2 separate regions of the Homo sapiens genome follow, and region 1 is linked to region 2. Evidence: promoter capture Hi-C in human tissues and cell types (Jung and others, 2019). All regions are on one chromosome and are shown on one strand. Each heading gives the region's core, a stretch centred on a gene start or on the middle of the fragment in contact. The rest is flanking DNA. Distances are from core to core; before and after follow the strand shown.

The links. The method cuts DNA at HindIII sites, captures the fragments that hold promoters and counts their contacts. A contact is called where the count stands out against the background at its distance.
Region 1: a fragment that was not itself captured here is called in contact with the fragment with the promoter of NMUR1 in region 2 in 1 of the 25 tissues and cell types used here (pancreas).

Annotation. Positions count from the first base shown.
Region 1 is chr2:231,127,250-231,132,174 of GRCh38, forward strand. The region is part of intron 16 of PSMD1 (proteasome 26S subunit, non-ATPase 1); the gene reads left to right. Among named protein-coding and RNA genes, the nearest start is that of HTR2B, 4.7 kb to the left of the region's middle. The HindIII fragment of the contact is 4,723 bases long and covers 967-4,925 here.
Region 2 is chr2:231,528,086-231,533,209 of GRCh38, forward strand. It overlaps NMUR1 (neuromedin U receptor 1), which reads right to left and starts at 2,360. Exons shown (of 3, transcript NM_006056.5): 1 at 2,274-2,360; 2 at 38-932. The coding sequence starts at 2,276. LOC105376787 (a long non-coding RNA gene) reads left to right here and starts at 4,085. Exons shown (of 4, transcript XR_001739928.2): 1 at 4,085-4,754. RefSeq lists enhancers at 1-295, 296-822, 3,312-4,046 and a silencer at 2,188-2,617. The HindIII fragment of the contact is 18,375 bases long and covers 1-5,124 here.

The DNA.
Region 1 (4,925 bases), core at 2,078-4,577, 400 kb before region 2:
CAACTGAAACAGCAACAACAACAACAAAAAAAAAAAAAACAAGAATTTAAATGTATAAACATGTAGGTCTACTCAAAGTAGAGACTTGTACCTTTTTTTGTGTTTGTTTTTGTTTTGTTTTTTGAGACAGAGCCTTCCTCTGTCACCCAGGCTGGAGTGCAGTGGCACAATCTCAGCTCACTGCAACCTCTGCCTCCCAGGTTCAAGCAATTCTCCTGTCTCAGCCTCCCAAGTAGCTGGGATTACAGGCGCCTGCCACCACGCCTGGCTAATTTTTGTATTTTTAGCAGAGACGGGGTTTCGCCATGTTGACCAGGATGGTCTCGAACTCTTGACCTCAAGTGATCGCCTGCCTCAGCCTCCCAAAGTGCTGGGATTACGGGCATGAGCCACCGCACCCCACGCCCTTTGACAACATTTTATGTGGCATAATGATGGATAGCACAGTGATGACTTCTGTGTACTTAAGAAAAGGCTAGATCATGTTCATTCAGCAAATAAATGTGAAATGAATTTATTAAATATTTCTATGCAAATAATAAGAAATATAAAAGTATGATTCTTAATGGTAGAGTGAAGTTTTTAATATCTGGAAGCTTCATTTGTGTAGAATATTTCCTTTCCCAAAAGCTTCAGATAAAGTAACTCTTACTAAAGTAACTTCAAGGTCAGACTCAGCCTCTAATCCAGTAATAACCAAAAAAACCTAATTGGCACATTTTTTTCTAAGACAATTGAATTTTCTCCCTGATGTCTTTTTAATTTATTGAGCAGATTCTGTCTTTGACCGAAAAGGGCAGTCTAATATTCTTTATAGGTCTAGGAAGACAGCTTAAATATCAGCCAAGAACACTTTTTTACCTCTCAGTCATAATACCTATTAAACAGTAACCATAAAGGAATGTTTAACATGACAGGGATTGTATCTGCTACATATTCATTTGTGAAGTATTTACTAAGTGCCATATGCTCATGGAGATATATTAATGAATAAGGTAAACATTTTCTGTCCTCATGTAATTTATAATTTTATGGAGGATGCAAACAAGTATATTGGTAACTATAGTACAGATAAGGTAGAACTAAGACTAGCTCACTTCAACAGGACCTACAGTGGAGTTCAAATATTTCTCAGCTTTCTTTTTATTCATTCCTCTCATGTTCATTCTCTTTGACAAGATCAGTGAAAGAGCTGAAACTATAAGAATAGCTATTTCAAACTTAATCTGTTCTCGTTAGACTCCTTCATTCTCTTCTGACTGCCTGTTATTTTAACGAAAGACTTTGACAAATCAAAAACAAGCTTCCTTCACTGTCTTCTCAAAATGTCTTTCTTTTCATCCATCCTATCCTTCTTTGGGATCATGTTATCATTCCTTTCCACAATTGACTTCTACTTAGGTTCTTGATCCCATCTCATATGTATATGAAGTCTGTGTTGCTTCCTCTGGCATTAACAGCCTATACCAGGAGTGTGATAGGCTGCCATCTCTACTGTCACAGCTAGTCTAGGAGTGGGGGTGTGGTAGGCAGACAGTTTAAGATGCCACAGTGCTGTCTTACCACAATACAGCACCTTCTTCTTTAAGCCCTCCCCAGGTTAAGTTTTTTACTGGATTCCTGTGTAAAAGTTGATCTAGACAATTTTTGCCAGGTTATTGCCAGAACAAAAGAATAAGATTTTTTTTTGTCATCGAAACTCTAGAGTACAACCTGATGTCATAAAATGGTGTTGTCCTTTAATCAAAAGACTGCTATACCTGGAATTATAGTTGATGATCATAACCCAAATATCTTTTGGAGTAGATATGCTCAACTCTGCATGTCCTCAGTAATCACAGTAATCAGCTATTAGAAATAGACTTTTATCATTAGAATACTTGTTTAAATATCAGAAGTGATTAAAACTTTTTGAGAATCAAAGTACATTTATGTTGATTACTATAAAAATCAAAGAAATATCAATACAGTTCTCAATGAATAGCAGTAAGTTGATGGCAGCTCACTCATACTGCAAGACTTTTCTTAGTTTGCTGATTAGAAATGAAAACAAGTGTGCTAATAATGCTGCAACTTTGAATATTACAGATTTCTGTAGGTCCAGGAATGCAATCTGAGATTTTTAAGAGCTCTATTTATTATGGTGACACAGCAATTTCTTTGTATAAGGCTTGTGACTCTTCTTACATCTTTAAAATTCCCTCCCTCGCCCATTTTAGCAGCACCTGAAAAGTATTAGTCTTTTTGGAAATGTACCAAAAGCTTGCCTAAAAGTATACTAATTTTTAGTTTTCTGAAGTCCAGGAAGATGACAACAAATAAATTCTCTTTCACTGAATTTGTAACATTTATGGCACAGTCTGTGTGGTTTTGTTTTTTGCTTTTCCTTGTGGTAAGTTATATGTATTCACTATATACTAAACTGATAAGAGTTAAAAGCTACAAATAGCAGTAGCTTAGAATATGGAGGTACGAAGAACAAAAGTATGTTTGGGAAAGAAAATTGTTTTCTTTCTCAGCTTTTTCCCTGAAAATGTTTTATGCCACAAAATTCAAAAAAGCATAATATATTTCCCCTACTTTTTTGTTTTTTACCTGTAATGGCACTGTTTGTTTGTTTTCGAGACGGAGTCTCACTCTGTCACCCAGGCTGGAGTGCAGTGGCACTGTGTCAGCTCACTGCAACCTCTGTCTCCCGGGTTTAAACAGTTCTCCTGCCTCAGCCTCCCAAGCAGCTGGGATTACAGGCGCCCACCAGCACGCCCAGCTAATTTTTATATTTTTAGTAGAGACGGGCTTCACTGTGTTGGCCAGGCTGGTCTCAAACTCCTGACCTCAGGTGAGCCACCACACCCGGCCAATGGCACTGTTGTTTCTTTTATTATTATTACAAGTTGTATGAACTAGCCAAAGAATAAAATAAAGGAGAACAAGAAAAGTTCCTCAGATTCCCACAACATGTAGCTCTGTCGTTGAGTACACATGCAGCTGGCAAATTTATAATTGTCTAAGTAAATATACTTTTTTCTGTAAATATACTTTTAAATAACATATCAAAACATGTGAAAGAGCTAAGTTATAGGTAACACATTCTATGCTAATAAAATTGTCTACCAAGTATTGATTTCTTTCCTCTCCACTGCCCTTCCCTAAAATAAAGTCCAGTGTTTTTCCTGTGACTTGACCATTTCTCAACATTTAGTTTTCTAAATACGTTGTTTTGTTTTGTTTTGTTTTTTGAGACAAGGCATCACTCTGTTGCCCAGGCTGTAGTGCAGTGGTGTGATCTCAGCTCACTGCAGACTTGACTTCCTGGGCTCAAGTGATCCTCCCAAGTAGCTGAGACTACAGGCATGCACCTCCATCCCCGGCTAATTTTTGTATTTTTTGTAGAGATGGGGTTTCGCGGGAATGCCAAGGCTGGTCTTGAACTCCAGGGTTCATGCAATCAGTCCTCCTGCCTCGACTTCCCAGAATGCTGGGATTACAGGCATGAGTTACTGTGCTTGGCCAGTTTTTCTAAATATGTTTATGGAGACATAGAAATAAGCTTTATTGCTGATTAAGGATTAGTCATTTAAATACTTTGTTATAAATGCTGATCCAAGGTATTATAAGAAACTGGAGGAATTATTTCGTGATGTTATCTAGAAGGCAAATGTTTATACTGAAGAAAGATTTAGGGAGTGTCAGAATTATTGAAAATAACTGAAAGAAAGCCTAGTGGATTGTTACTAATGATTTAATGTATTTTCTTTTAACCTGTAGGTTCTCTCTTCATCTCTTGCCTTGCCCTCTTTTTCTTTGTTTTCTTCCTCCTTGCAGTTTATTTGTTGAAGAAACCAGTTATCTCTGTTTTGTTTCCCATGGTATGAATTTTGCTGAGTGCATCTTTACATGTAGTTTAATGTGTTGTTTGGTCCTTCACATTTCCTGTAAATTGACAGTTGAATCTACAAGCTTGATCACATTCACATTTTTTTTAGGGTGGTGGGGCTGGCGGTACACACAGTTATTTCCATTTTCATGATGTTAGCAGTCGTTGATAATCATGCTGCGATCTATTCATTATATGTTACAAAATGGTGATATAATTTTATCATTTATTAACTGTTCCTTTAAAAGTTTATATCATATATCTCTGTGTGTATATATAAAGATTAATGTGCAGGAGTTTTGCTTTCAGTGAATGTTTGCATTCCAATCATTGCTTAGAAAGTTTTTTTGCCCTTGCCGGGCGCGGTGGCTCACGCCTGTAATCCCAGCACTTTGGGAGGCCGAGGCGGGCGGATCACGAGGTCAGGAGATCGAGACCATCCCGGCTAAAACGGTGAAACCCCGTCTCTACTAAAAATACAAAAAATTAGCCGGGCGTAGTGGCGGGCGCCTGTAGTCCCAGCTACTTGGGAGGCTGAGGCAGGAGAATGGCGTGAACCCGGGAGGCGGAGCTTGCAGTGAGCCGAGGTCCCGCCACTGCACTCCAGCCTGGGCGACAGAGCGAGACTCCGTCTCAAAAAAAAAAAAAAAAAAAAAAAAAAGAAAGTTTTTTTGCCCTTTTAGAGTTGCCTGCTGAAACATTGAAATAAACATATAAGAATATTATGGTTTTACTGTACTCTTGAAAAGATTGAATGTCTAAACTAATTTAATAAAGAATTTCTCATTTCTTGTCTTAACACTTGTTTTTTCTAAAGAATGTGTCAGAGTTGGAACTGTTGTTAGATTGAGACACTGTCAGGTTTTTTATATGCTTTTGAGTTTATAGCCTTCACAGCCTATTTCAGTCTTTATTGCAATTAACTAGGTAAAGTTCTGCATTAGGCTCCTGGTATTTATGTTCTCAGGCAAAATTTTTTCTAAACCTCATGGAATTGTTAGTGCCTTTTGGGAAGCAAAACTTAAGTCTAACTTCTATCCCCTTTCAG
Region 2 (5,124 bases), core at 1,110-3,609:
GCCTGGCTCAGCCCCTCTTCCCAGCCGTGACACTTACACAGCATCTTGGTCACTTGTCTCCGGCCCCGATCGTGCTGCTGGAGCCTGCAGGTGTATCTGGACCTGGCTGCTGCAGAGCCCCTGCCCTTGGCCTCCTGCATGAGCAGCAGCCTCTCCCGCCGCAGTCGCAGCCCAATGAGCAGGTAGAGCACGCTCATGATGGCCATGGGCAGGCAGAAGAAGAGCAGCGCGGTGGTCTGCACTACCATGTTGTAGAGGGCCCGTGGGCGGACCAGCATGCAAACAGCTGAGTCTGGCACTGGGCCCCGGCAGGGCACGTGCAGCTGCCGGATGCCGTGCAGGCTGGTGTTGGGCAGGGAGCAGAGCATGGCAAGACCCCAGACGGCCCCAAGCACTCGGCGCACATGGGCCCGCGTCACCATGGACCTGGCCTGGAGTGGGTGCACCACGGCCACATAGCGTTCCACGCTCAGGGCAGTGACGTTGAGCACTGAGGCCAGGCAGACCATCTCAAACAGTAGCGTGCGGAAATAGCAGCCACCAACGCCCAGCAGGAAGGGGTAGTTGTGCCACATCTCATAGAGCTCCAGGGGCAGGCCCACCAGCAGCACCAGCAGGTCCGACACGGCCAGGCTGAAGAGGTAGTAGTTGGTAGGCGTGCGCATGGCCTTGTGGCGCAGGATGACCAGACAGGTCAGCCCATTGCCCACAGCGCCCACCACGAAGATCAGCAGGTATGTGGCACAGATGGGCATGAACAGCTCTGTCTGCTGGGGCCCCAGGTACTTGAGTCTCAGTGCCTCGTCAGTCAGGTTCAAGTCCTCAGGGTCAAAGTGCCCCCTGGCCGCACTGCCATTGCAAGCCATGGGGTTCCTTGCACCCCCTGGGTACAGGTCTCCAGGGAGGACAGAGCAATTGAGGCAGAGAGGAGTCTGTGGAACAGAGGGGAGAGATGCCCAGAAAGATCATTCAGGGAATGCTGGCTCTGTCCTCACTCATCAAGCCAAAGGTGACATTAGCGCTATGATGACCATTATTTTAGGCACCACTGAGAAAGAAAAAACTCTTCCATCCACAAGTCAGAGATGTAAAAATAAGCTTGGTGCAGTGGCTCACACCTGTAATCCCAACACTTTGGTCGAGGCAGGCGGATCACTTGAGATCAGGAGTTCAAGACCAGCCTGGCCAATATGGTGAAACCCCGTCTCTACTAACAATACAAAAAGTAGCCGGGCGTGGTAGCACACGCCTGTAATTCCAGCTACTTGGGAGGCTGAGGCGGGAGAATTGTTTGAACCCAGGAGACAGAGGTTGCAGTGAGCGGAGATTGTGCCACCGGACTCCAGCCTGGGCAACAGAGAAAGACCTTGTCTCAAAAAAACAAAAAGCAAACAACGAAAAAGTAAAAATCTACATTTAAAAAAAAAAAAACACGTGGGGTTTTGATTTTAAATTTCATGATCTATTGGAACCTTTGAGTAAATGACAGATCTTGGGTGTCTCCTCTTTCAAGCAATGATGCTAGATGAGGCACTCGTTTGGGCATCTGTAAAATGGGCACAATGCCTGGTATTGCAGGGTCTTCAAGAGCAAGCGCTCAGGAAGCAACTGCCTGGATTCGAATCCAGCCTCCCCAGTTCCAGGCTGTGTGACCTTTAGCGAGGTAACCTCTCTGAGGCTGTTTCCCTATTAGGAGGATCCAGGGAGTTTAATCCATTAAAGACATTAACACAGGGCCTGCCTGGCATACGGAAGGGCACGGGGATCACCCCCTTGCTCTGGGGACCCAGTCACTATGAGAGTCAAGTGAGGGAGTGTCAAGGCTACACACTACAAATGCTTCATCCACAAGTTGATTCTTTTTTCTGTTTTCTGTCACCTGAACTGTTCAGTCTCCATATTTGACGCCCTTGGCACTGCCAGTTCTGGGGTTCCCTCTCCTCTATTGAGCCCCACACCCTTCCTCCCGCCCGCCCTCACCCCCGCTGCACAGCAGCGCGGGAGCCTCGGGAACCAGTTGGGAACGCGCAGGCGCCAGCCCGGGTTCAAGGGAGGCGCCCTGGTCCTCGAGGAAGGGTCGCAAGCCCGCAGCCCCCCGGCGCCCCTGGCCGGAAGACACAAATGACCCGAGAAGTTGCGAGGCTCCCCGGTGGCGGGGACGGGGGGCACCCCGACGGAGCCCTCGGACCCTTCCCGCCCTAGGACGACCCTGCCCGCACCGAGCCCCGGCCCAGCTGCCGCGCCCTAGCCCACGCCGGCGCCTGCGCACCTACCATGCGGCCCGCGGCCCGCGAGACCCCGGCTTCCACCCTCCGAGCGACGGACACAGACGCGGCGCGGGAGCCAGTGGACTGACTGACAGCGGCCCCAGCCCGCGCCCCGACGCCCCGCCTGTCCGGCCGGGAACGCCGCCAGGGGGCAGTGCAGTCCCCGCAGCCCGGGCGGCGCCCCCTCCCGCACTGGCGGAGGACGCGGCCGTTGGAGGCGACACCTCCACAAGCAGCGTGGAGGCGACACCTCCACAAGCAGCGTTATCTGACGGAACCCTCACAACAACCCGTTTTACAGATGAGAAAACTGAGCCTCAGAGAGCCGCAGAGGAGGAGCCCGAGAGACCTGGGGCTCACATGTGATTCCCGCCCTCCAGCGTGCTGAGTTTAGCTTAACGCCGTCACGGTGTCCCTGCGGCCTCCAGCTCCTCCTGCCCCCCATTCAGACCCACCTCCAAGGACAGGGACGGCCCACCAGCCCCTTGAAGTCGACATGCCCCGGTGCGGTTCATCCTCCCAGGCTCCAGGCCTCTTCTTCTGTCCCAAGGCCCATGATTGCAGCCTCCGCAGCCCCTCTCACCCGCTGCTCCCTTCGGGGCCTCCAGTCCCTGAGTCCAGGCGCTCGGCCCTGCAGGACTGGGCAAGAGCCCCCTATTCTCCCTCCAGTCCATCCTCCCACAGCCACCAACGACCATCACCCCCTCGAAACCCTTCCTTGGGGCCCCCCCACTGCCTTCTGAAAAAGAGCACACCAAAGTCTAGCCTGGGGGTGGACCTCCCCACTCCTCACCTGCCTCCCTGGGCCACCCTCTCCTCACCATTGTCCTCAGCCCCAAATACTGTCCCCCTTATCCGTTCAAATGTTCTTCTGCCCCCATCACTGTACCAAGGGTGGGGGTATAGACAAGGATGGAGGGAATTTAGGGAAGGGTTAAGAATGCCCAGCCACAGCCTCCTGCTCCCCCACACTGCCCACATGCAAATCCCAGTGCCTCACCTGCTCCCACTCCCTAGTCCTGCAATCAGCTCCTTAGCTGGAAGCTGTTTCATCAGAAACTTCTAGGGACCCTAGAAATGACGGATCACACAGAGTAAAATGCTGGTTCCGGGGCCTTTGCCCAGAGTTTTGTCTCCTTAGCCTGGGCAAGGCCCAGAAATCCTCATGTTTGACAAACGCCCTCTGGAGAGCCCCATGCCCCAGAATCACACTGAGGAGCACCAGGAGAGGTTACAAAGCCACAGGACCCCGAGAGGCCACCGTGAGCTCAGAAGCTCTGTGTGCCTCAGTTCCCCTTCCTGTAGAATGGGCTAACCACCATCGCCACTATTGTGAAGGTGACATGAGACACTGAGCGTCAAGATTCAGCACAGGGGCTGGCACATGGCCAACACTCAAGAAATGTGGGGTGGGATTGTCACCATTTAGTGGCAACTGGAGGCTCCTCCTTCCCCCCGCTTTCCTGCACCCTCCTCCTCCCCACTGCCCCCCAATTCCATAAGTCACTGTCTGGGCTTGGGGATGGGAGTTAGGCCCTCAAGGAGCCTGCACCAGGCCGGCCTTCCCAGGAACTCCACATGTAAACAGAGTCCCAGGCAGGGGACGGTTGTGGGAAGTGCAGGGGCACGTGGTCCTCAGGGCCTTGGGAGAAAGGATTCTGTGGTGCCCTGGGAATTAACTACTCAGCCCCTGATGAGCTAGTCCAGGAGAAATCCTCAGTAACAGGGCTGCCAGCACAACAGACGGGCAAGGAGGGATGACATCACTCAGCATCAGAGACCACTGTGGCATCACAGGCTGCTCTTAGCAAGTGAGGAGCATTTGGACCCCAGCCCTTCACTGGAACACACACACACACGCACATGCATGTACACACACATACACACACATGCATGCACACATCACTCTGCACATACCACACCACACACACGCGCACACACATACCACTCTGCACAGACTCTGAGCAGTCCGAAAGTCCCCGTGGACCCTTTGGTTCACACAGCCCTGGAGGGGATGGGGAAGGACCCACCTAGCCTTGCAGAGGCAGAATGACTCTTGCCAGTCAGGAATTCCTACAGCGGGTTGCATCATTCACATAACATTAGCAGCCATCAAAGGCTAAAGAGCAGCCCCCAAAAAGGAGAGGCTCAGTGGCCACAATGGCTGTGGCCCTCACTTCCGCACTGTGCAGAGGGCCCTAGGGGCCCTGGCCTCCGGGCCTGAGCTCAAGGCCACCACGGTAGTGTCCCATCAGAAACGTATGACATCCTGCTGCTCCTGCTCCGTCCTGAGGTGGCACCCCCCAGTTTTCTGGGTGTACACATCCATCTAAGCTTGGCTGGTGGGCGTCTGCCCAGATGAGGGGGCCAAGGACCCAACTCTGCACAACAGCAAATGCATTCAGGGAGGGCCACTGGGACCTCCAGGAGCTGCTGAGATACCACCCAAGTCCCAGGCGTGTGCAGGACTCATGGGGCCAGAGGCATGTGAGTAGCTCCGTATCCCCTCCTCATCCTGCTGAGTCCCTGAGAGCCAAGAGGGGCTGCTTAAACTCAGGCCAGGCTTAAACCAGAACCTTCTCAGCCTTGGGCTGACCCGCAGCTCCTGGCAAGCCCATGGTTCCCCCAGAAACGCCCCAACCCCACCCCACTTACTGCCTACAGAGGGGAGGCAGGGAGGATGAGATGAGCTTGGGGACACTGTAGCTCTGGACAGGAGGGAGGCACTGTTCTGCAGCCTGGGCAATGGGGATCACCCAGGACCCCCATCACTAGGCTTCATTGGGCAAACATGGAGAACAAGAACAGTAAATATCCGAAGCAAGGGAGAGTCGCTGTACCCATCTGGGCACCTCCC